2 separate regions of the Homo sapiens genome follow, and region 2 is linked to region 1. The links are contacts of gene promoters, found by promoter capture Hi-C in human tissues and cell types (Jung and others, 2019). All regions are on one chromosome and are shown on one strand. Each heading gives the region's core, a stretch centred on a gene start or on the middle of the fragment in contact. The rest is flanking DNA. Distances are from core to core; before and after follow the strand shown. Region 1 holds the start of ZNF317 (zinc finger protein 317). Region 2 has its middle 28 kb from the start of ZNF699.

Evidence for each region. The method cuts DNA at HindIII sites, captures the fragments that hold promoters and counts their contacts. A contact is called where the count stands out against the background at its distance.
Region 2: a contact is called between a fragment that was not itself captured here and the fragment with the promoter of ZNF317 in region 1, in 2 of the 25 tissues and cell types used here (H1 embryonic stem cells and lymphoblastoid cells).

What each region holds. Positions count from the first base shown.
Region 1 is chr19:9,138,403-9,142,044 of GRCh38, forward strand. It overlaps ZNF317 (zinc finger protein 317), which reads left to right and starts at 1,995. Exons shown (of 7, transcript NM_020933.5): 1 at 1,995-2,190. RefSeq lists enhancers at 1,658-1,757, 1,808-2,017. The HindIII fragment of the contact is 13,678 bases long and covers 1-3,642 here.
Region 2 is chr19:9,278,862-9,284,345 of GRCh38, forward strand. It overlaps the pseudogene OR7H1P. Among named protein-coding and RNA genes, the nearest start is that of ZNF699, 28 kb to the right of the region's middle. The HindIII fragment of the contact is 5,089 bases long and covers 1-4,682 here.

The DNA.
Region 1 (3,642 bases), core at 745-3,244:
GCATGCCTGTAAGCCCAGCTACTCGGGAGGCCGAGGCAGGAGAATCGCTTGATCCCGGGAGGCGGAGGTTGCGGTAGCTGAGATCTCACCATTGCCCCCCAGCCTGGGAAACAAGAACGAAACTCCATTGCAAAAAGAAAAAAAAAAAGGAAAAAAAAGATGAGAGATGAATGTTGGCGAGGGCATCAAGCAAAGTGAACCCTAGTACATTGTTGGTGGGAATGCAGACTGGTACAACCTTTGTGGAAAACAGTATTCAGGCTCTTAAAGAAATCTACAACAGAACTACTATATGACCCAGCAATTCCTCTTTTGAATATATGCCTAAAAGAGATGAAATAATCACCTCATAACGATGTCTGCACTTTCATTTTCATTGTAGCATTATTTACAATATCCAAGTTACGGAAACAACCTGAATGTCCATTGATGCTCACATGAATACGAAATACAAAATAGCAGCTATGTAGTCTGAATAATATTCTATCTCTTTTGTATTTATATATGATGTCAACATTAATATCATATAATATTGATATATATTTCATATTATATTAAATATTAATATAATATGTTGTATATAAATATATACCTATTACATAATAGATATTCCCATTATGTTATATATCATGTAATATATTATATGTAATATATGTATATAATATACTATATGAAATACATATTATATATTATATGTATTATTATATGTATATATGCTATATATTATGGTGTATATATTATGTATTATGAAATATATATTACGTTATGTAATATAGATTATATATTATATATGAATATCTTATATCCATATATATTCCATACATACATTTTATATGTGTGTGTATATATATATATACGCACCATGGTCCATCCCCTCAATAATATATTTTCCAAAACCTCAAATTTCCTTCTCTCTGTCTTTTATAATACCTGCCCTGGATAATACTAACCATCTGTCTCTCCTGCCTATATAATTCTGCCCCTACTGGTTACATGGGAAGCCTTGGTTTCCTAAAGTGTTGAGATTACAGGTGTGAGCCACTGTACCCAGCCTGATTCTGGAATTTTGTATATGCAGACTCCTCCTGCTAAAATAATATATATTATATATAATATATATTCCATAATATATATAACATACATACATATATTATTTTAGCATATATTATATAATATACGGTAATAATACACATAATACATAATTATAATAAATATGATATAATATATATTCCATTGTATAAAACATATAATATATATAACGGAATATTATTCAACCTTGAAATAGAAGGAGGTCCTGACATTTATCACAAGATGGGTGGACCTGGAGGACATTACGCTAAGTGAAATAAGCCAGACACAAAAAGAAAAATATTGCATGACGTCACTTACATGAGGAACTTTTTTTAATCAAGAGAGACAGCTCAAATACACAGAAATAAAGAATGAGGCAGTTGGGGAAGAAAATGGGAAGATGTGGGTCAAAAAATACAAAATAGCAGATATGCAGGATGAACACCACACAGGTGATGGTGATTTTACGCCCTTCCCAAGGTGTCATTCAGAGGCACGTGGTCTCCATCTGACCCTCACTGGTGATATTGATTTGATCACCTGGTCCAGATGTTGTCCAATTTCTTCGCTGTACAATTTCTATTACTTTTTCTCCATTCCAACATACGAGCAGTTTATAGAGAGGCATTTAAGGCAATTCAAATATTCTGCTCGTCATGCAAATGTCCCCCAGTTGTGTCATGTAGATGACAATTCTTGCCTGATTCAACCTTTACCACTACGATGGCTACAAAATGCTGTGGGTTGTGGTTGAAAATTTGAGTCTTGAGTAGAAATTGGAGAAATATGCTGGACCGTCAGATTCCACCGGGGCACGGCCGCCATGCCAATCCAAACTTCAAAACTACAATTCCCAGCATCCTCTCCGCCCCGCTTCCGTATTAGACGCCGCCAATGAAGTCCCGCGAGAATTGGAAGGCGGCAGTGAAGCGGAAGCCATTACTCTCTGGAGTCGATTGCCCCGAGACACATGGGCCAAGGAGGGGTCAGCGGCGAATTCTTTCGGCCTGTTGGGGACCCCTCGTGTCCCCACGCCAGACTGGACCTCCCGTATGAACTTCTCTTCGCATCGGCGGCGGCTTCCGTCACCTCCGCTCCCCCGATCCTATTCCCAGTCGTGTAAGCCCTGCTTTCCTTAACCCTTCTCCCCCTCAGTTCCAGGGGTCACGGGAGGCCTATCTGGCGGTGAGGACTAAGAGGGTACGAGGGTCGGGGGCTAAAGAGCTAGGCATCCAGACGAGGGGTGCGTTTAGATCTCGCGATCAGCGATATGAAAAGCTGGGGACGCGAAGGATAAAATTGGACCATTGCAGCTAGTGATGAGAGAAGCATTGGTCACCTGATCCTGAAAAGCCCTAAGTCTCTGGTGGGGGCGGAAAAGCCCGGCTGAAGTGAATTCAAGAGTTTGGGGGCAGTTCAGGAGATTGGGGGGCGTCAGGATTTGGACATCGCGAGGAGAAATCACCTTCTTTCTGCGCTGTAGTCAATTTTATCTCGTGAATGTCAGCACATTGGTGTTCTTATTAGCACTTACCTTGAGTACCTTTTATATTTTTAATTTAAGACCTTCTGGTTGCACTTTTTTATTTATTTTAATTTTAGTGGACTCTTGTAAATAGCCTATATGTATATTTACTATTCAGTTCAACATTTTGTTAATTAACTTGAGTTAGTCCAGTTATACTTATCGTGATTATTAATATTTTCCATTGAATTTTACCGTCTTATTTTGTGGTGTGTCCTTTCCTATGCACATATTTTAACACTGGAAAATAGGACATACATGCAAAAAAAGTATGATTACACACACACGCAGACTTACACACACTTAAAAGGACAACAGTAAAGCGAATTTACAAACCAGGCCAAGAAAGAGATTATTAAATCTCAGAAAGCTGTGTGCCTCTTCTAAACTGCATCCTCCTCTCCCACCAATACTGTCTCCGTGGATTTGACTGCGTATACATCTTTTCCAGAAAATATATTTCCTAAATTTTGGTAATTATTTGTGAATGAACTCAGGCGCTTCAGTATTTTTGGAAACAATCTTTTTCTGTATTGATTCAAGCACACCTTTGTAATTTAGAGATTTCTAAATATCTTGTAGATGAAGTACTTACACCTAGCCATTCTTTTTCAGGAATGTCATGGCTTAAATTCTAGTCAGTTCACCAAATTCCACATACTGGACTTTTGTTTTCAAGTTGTGGTGAATCTATATTTGAACTTTGGGAATATTGTCGTTTTTATGCCATTGAGTTGCAGTTAATTGATTTACATCATTTATTTACATCTTCTTTAATGCCTTTCAATAAAGTGTTTTTTGTTGTTGTTGTTGTTTTTTCCTTTTTGAGATGGAGTCTCACCCTTGTAGCCCAGACTGGAGTGCAATGACAATCTCGGCTCACTGCAACCTCTGTCTCCCTGGTTCAAGCGGTTCTCCTGCCTCAGCCTCCCGAGTAGCTGGGAATACAGGCACCCACCACCACACCCAGCTAAATTTTGTATTTTTAGTGGAGATGGGGTTTCAACATGTTGGCCAGGCTGGTCTCGATCTCCTGACCTCAGGTG
Region 2 (5,484 bases), core at 888-3,387, 140 kb after region 1:
GCAGAAGGACACCCGCAGCACCAACAGACTCTGGATCAGGGAGTATGACAAGCTGAGGAACCAGGACACAAGAACCAGCAGGCCACAGAGGCAGGGGTTCCTGGTGACACAGTAGTACAGGGGGTGACAGATGGCCACATACCGGTCATAGGCCATCACGGTGAGGAGAAATGTGTCCATGCCTCCAAAAACCATGAAAAACATACATCTGGGCGATGCAGTCTGCATAGCTGATGGCATTGCTCTGCACCTGGATGTTCACCAGCATCTTGGGGACTGCGGTGGAGGTGAAACCGATGTCAGCCAGGGACAGATTGGAGAGGAAGAAGTACCTGGGGGTGTGGAGGTGGGAGTCAGAGCTGATGGCCAGGATGATGAGCAGGTTCCCCAGAACGGTGACCAGGTACATGGACAGAAACAGTGCAAAGAGCAACTGTTGATCCTCTAGGTCTTGGGAAAATCCCAGGAGTAAAAATTCTGAAACTCTTGTTTGATTTCCCAAGTCCATGTTGCTGACACATCAGCTAGACAGTTAAGGAAGGGAAGAAACATGAAATAGATGCTGAACAGGCTCCAAAATCTCTCTGCTTTTTTATTTCTTGAGGTGAATAATTGGATACAAAAGCTTTAAAATAGCAAAACTTAGGAATCCTACATTCTGTCATTTGTTATAGGCAACATTTCATAACGTTGACTAACCCCTGTTCATTGGCCTCTCAGAGGCTTACCCATTCCCTTTTTCTCTGCTTTAGAATCATCAAATCTACCAAGAGCAACTTTAGACCTTAGAGATAAAATGGTCTGCACCTGCTCTAACACATATAAGGTTCAGTGAACTTAAGAAAAGGTCAGGGTCATCTTCCTTGTCTAAGACACAACTGAGACTGAAGAAGGTCAGACAACTATGTCTGAGCAGTGAGAAAATATGAAAGCAGAGATAATAGCTAGACAAAATATTGCAAGATGAGTGGATTTAGGTTTTCAAGGAAGGAAAGAGGAAGGGAGGGAGGGAAGGAGGAAGGAAGGGAAGGAAGGAAAGAAGGAAGGAAGGAAAGGAAGAAAGGAAGGAAGGAAGGAAGGAAGGAAGGAAGGAAGGAAGGAAGGAAGGAAGGGTTACTTGTTGCCTTAAGTCCCACTTGGAATTATGGTGGCAGCCAAATTCTGATTCAAATAGGTCATGACATTACCAGTAATAACATTCATCTTAAGAAGCTGACCGCACATTAAAAACTTTCTACCTTAGAACCAGGGTTTCAAAATTAGAGACCAGAAAGATACAGTCATTTGACACTTATATGATTCTCTTTTTCCATCCACATAATAAATATGTCCTAATCTGTTTCTAGTGTCTAGTGTTGGTGCACAATTTTTTTTGTTGTTGTTGGGTTTTTGTTTGTTTTCTTTTCTTTTGAGACAGAGTCTTGAGCTGTCACCCAGGCTGGAGAGTTCAGTGGCGCAATCTCGGCTCACTATAACCTCTGCCTCCCGGGTTCAAACAATTCTCCTGCCTCAGCCTCCTGAGTAGCTGGGATTACAGGTGTGCACCACCATGCCCAGCTAGTTTTTGTAAAAATACAAAACTAACTAGCTAGTTTTTTACAAAAACTAGTTAGTTTTACCATGTTGGCCAGGCTGGTCTTCAACTCCCAACCTCAGGTGATCTGCCCACCTCGGCCTCCCAAAGTGCTGGGATTACAGGCATGAGCCACAGCACGTGGCCTGGTGCATAATTTTTGTTGAGCCGTGCTGGGAAGTACAGAAGAATTGAACTAGGTTGACAACTAGGTTGTCAGTCACTGAAAAAGTGCTAACAGCCATTCTGCAAGAGGGTCTTCTTTGGGCCAGGCTAAGTGTTAGCTGTTGGGGATACAAAGATTAATGATGTGGTCTTTTTTTTCTTATGGTTCCACCTTCCAGAAGATGGATTCAGAAACAGATCATTGTAACACAGTGAATTAAGTGCTAAAATAAAACGATGTACAGAGTGGAGTACAGAGAGGAACCCTCAATCCAGCCTGGAGTAATGCATTCAGGGAAGGAGTCCTGGAGGAAGGAATACCTGGGCAAGGAGTTACCCAGGTGAATGGTTGCACAGGGGCATTTCTGGCAGAGATATAAGCAAGGGAATAAGCCTAGAAGCAAGAAGCAGCATGGGACAGAGTTCTCTTAGCCCTTTGCTGCTGCTTAAGTACAAAGTGTTAGATAGAAACGATGAGGATGATGTTGGAGAGGTGGGCAGGGATGACATGTCTAAGAACTTTGAAAAGTATAATCCATAAAGGATGGGGCTGTGAAGGAACGGCAATCAAAGGAGTAACATGATAGGAATTGCAATTCTCCCTGGGGCCTGGAGGGAAAGATGGATTTAGGGCAGGCAAAACTAAGGATAAGGGAACAGGGTTGGGGATTCTTCATATCATTGGAATTGAGGGGAACAACTCAGGAATATTTTTGCAGAAGAAATACAAAGGCCAGGAGAGGTAAAGGAATGAGGTCAATGTCTTGCTAACAATCTCAGCTTAAGGATGAGACTTGACCTTCAAGTGAAATGAAGGGAATTATGGAAAAGAATCCTGCAGGTTTCAATGCTTCCCTCGTGTTCCCCAGAGGATACGATGTCAAGAGGAGACTGGATGTTGGGCTTGCCTGAGCCCTTCACTTTCCCTCACTCACCCATCGTACCCTAGTTGTTATACACCATGGCCTTCCATTCCAGGGAACACAGACGCTTGTCTCTTGAAGGTGTCTACTTAGAATCATGGATAAGGGTAAAGAAGGATGGGGAAGGATAAGTCTTTCTGGAGAGGCAGGAGATGTTTCCAAGCAAGTGAGGGTCACAGAGAAGAATTCAGAGAGGCTTGATCTAGGCTGAGGGCCTCTGAAGTTCTTGGGTCAGGTAGTAGGTGAAAAGAACTAGAAGTGACCAGGACTTCACTGCAAGGCACCTACAGCTCCTACTGAAACCTGCAGGATTCTTTTCCATAATTCCCTTCATTTCACTTGAAGTCAAGTCTCGTCCTTAAGCTGAGATTGTTAGCAAGACATTGACCTCATTCCTTTACCTCTCCTGGCCTTTGTTTTTCTTCTGCAAAAATATTCCTGAGTTGTTCCCCTCAATTCCAATGATATGAGGAATCCCCAACCCTGTTTCCTTGTCCTTAGTTTTGCCTGCCCTAAATCCATCTTTCCCTCCAGGCCCCAGGGAGAATTGCAATTCCTATCATGTACCTTGGAGCATCCATTTGTACAATGCAGATTGGTCACTCCAAGACCACACAGAGTGATCCAGGGCAGCGCTAAGATATCAAACAGTGCCCCAGGCCAACAAAGAGTAGCCCTTCCTATAACCTCCATCAGTCATCTACCCAAGTAATATACAGGCAAAGTTAAAGCTCGCTATACAATGGCTATTTAAGCAAGTAGTCTAGCCATTCTCCCTTCCAAGAAATCAGCCTCAACAGCCCCTTCTCCGTGGACATCACAGGGTTTCTCCTGCCCTATGATTAACAAGTCAATGCCTTTCCCCTCAATCATCTCTTTTCCCTATTTCCCTCAACACTTACTGAGCTATGAAGGTTTGACAATGTGGACCCACCACAGGAGCCACCTTGTGTCCAGAATTGGTGGGTTCTTGGTCTCACTGACTTCAAGAATGAAGCCGCAGACCCTCGCGGTGAGTGTTACAGCTCTTAAGTGGCGCGTCTGGAGTTTGTTCCTTCTGATGTTCGGATGTGTTCGGAGTTTCTTCCTTCTGGTGGGTCCATGGTCTCGCTGGCTCAGGAGTGAAGCTGCAGACCTTCACTGTGAGTGTTACAGCTCTTAAAGCAGCGCGTTTGGAGTTGTTCGTTCCTCCCAGTAGGCTCGTGGTCTCGCTGGCTTCAGGAGTGAAGCTGCAGACCTTCGCGGTGAGTGTTACAGCTCATAAAAGCAGCGTGGACCCAAAGAGTAAGCAGTAGTAAGATTTATTGCAAAGAGCAAAAGAACAAAGCTTCCATAGCTTGGAAGGGGATCCGAGCGAGGTGCCACTGCTGGCTGGGGCAACCTGCTTTTATTCTGGTATCTGGCCCCACCCACATCCTGCTGATTGGTAGAGCCAGTGGTCTGTTTTGACAGGGTGCTGATTGGTGCCTTTACAACCCCTAAGCTAGACACAAAGGTTGTCCACGTCCCCACTAAATTAACTAGATACAGAGTGTCCACACAAAGGTTCTCCAAGGCCCCACCAGAGTAGCCAGATACAGAGTGTCAATTGGTGCATTCACAAACCCTGAGCTAGACATAGGGTGCTGATTGGTGTGTTTACAAACCTTGAGCTAGATACAGAGTGCCGATTGGTGTATTTACAATCCCTGAGCTAGACATGAAGGTTCTCCAAGGCCCCACCAGAGTAGCTAGATACAGAGTGTCCATTGGTGCATTCACAGACCCTGAGCTAGACACAGGGTGCTGATTGGTGTATTTACAATCCCTGAGCTAGACATAGGGGTTCTCCATATCTCCACCAGACTCAGGAGCCCAGCTGGCTTCACCCAGTGGATCCCGCACTGGGGCTGCAGGTGGAGCTGCCTGCCAGTCCCGGTGCCGTGCGCCCGCACTCCTCAGCCCTTGGGTGGTCGATGGGACTGGGAGCCGCGGAGCAGAGGGTGGCGCTCGTCGGGGAGGCGCGGGCCGCACAGGAGCCCATGGAGGGGGTGGGAGGCTCAGGCATGGCGGGCTGCAGGTCCCAAGCCCTGCCCCGTGGGAAGGCAGCTAAGGCCCGGTGAGAAATCGAGCGCAGCGCCGGCGGGCTGGCACTGCTGGGGGACCCAGTACACCCTCCACAGCCGCTGGCCCGGTTGCTAAGCCCCTCATTGCCCGGGCCGGGCAGGGCAGGCCGGCTGCTCGGAGTGCGGGGCCCGCCAAGGCCACGCCCACCCGGAACTCCAGCCGGGCCCGCAAGCGCCGCGCGCAGCCCCGGTTGCCGCTCGCGCCTTTCCCTCCACACCTCCCTGCAAGCTGAGGGAGCCGGCTCCGGCCTTGGCCTGCCCAGAAAGGGGCTCCCACAGTGCAGCGGTGGGCTGAAGGGCTCCTCAAGTGCCGCCAAAGTGGGAGCCCAGGCAGAGGAGTCGCGGAGAGTGAGCGAGGGCTGTGAGGACTGCCAGCACGCTGTCACCTCTCAACCTCCCCTGAATCTTGTTGTCTCGTGGAAGTAGGCGATGAAGACAGAAGCTCTGCCCCCCAAAAGAGCAGGGAGACAGAGCCCGGCAGGTGGTACGCGGCCTGGATGATTTCTCCTGGAGAACGCATGAGTGTCTTGGACCTTGCGCCTGGGGGCCTGGGTGACTGTAAGTAGATGAATTGCATGTTGGGCCCTGGGGTGGTCTATCCCCTCTGAAGCTTGTTAGACAAATTGGTCAATGGCGTATTCATTCCCTGATCAGTTTGGTTCCTCATGGGCAGGGACTACACAGGAAGAGGTCTCTGAACGGCCAATTCCTTATTCTT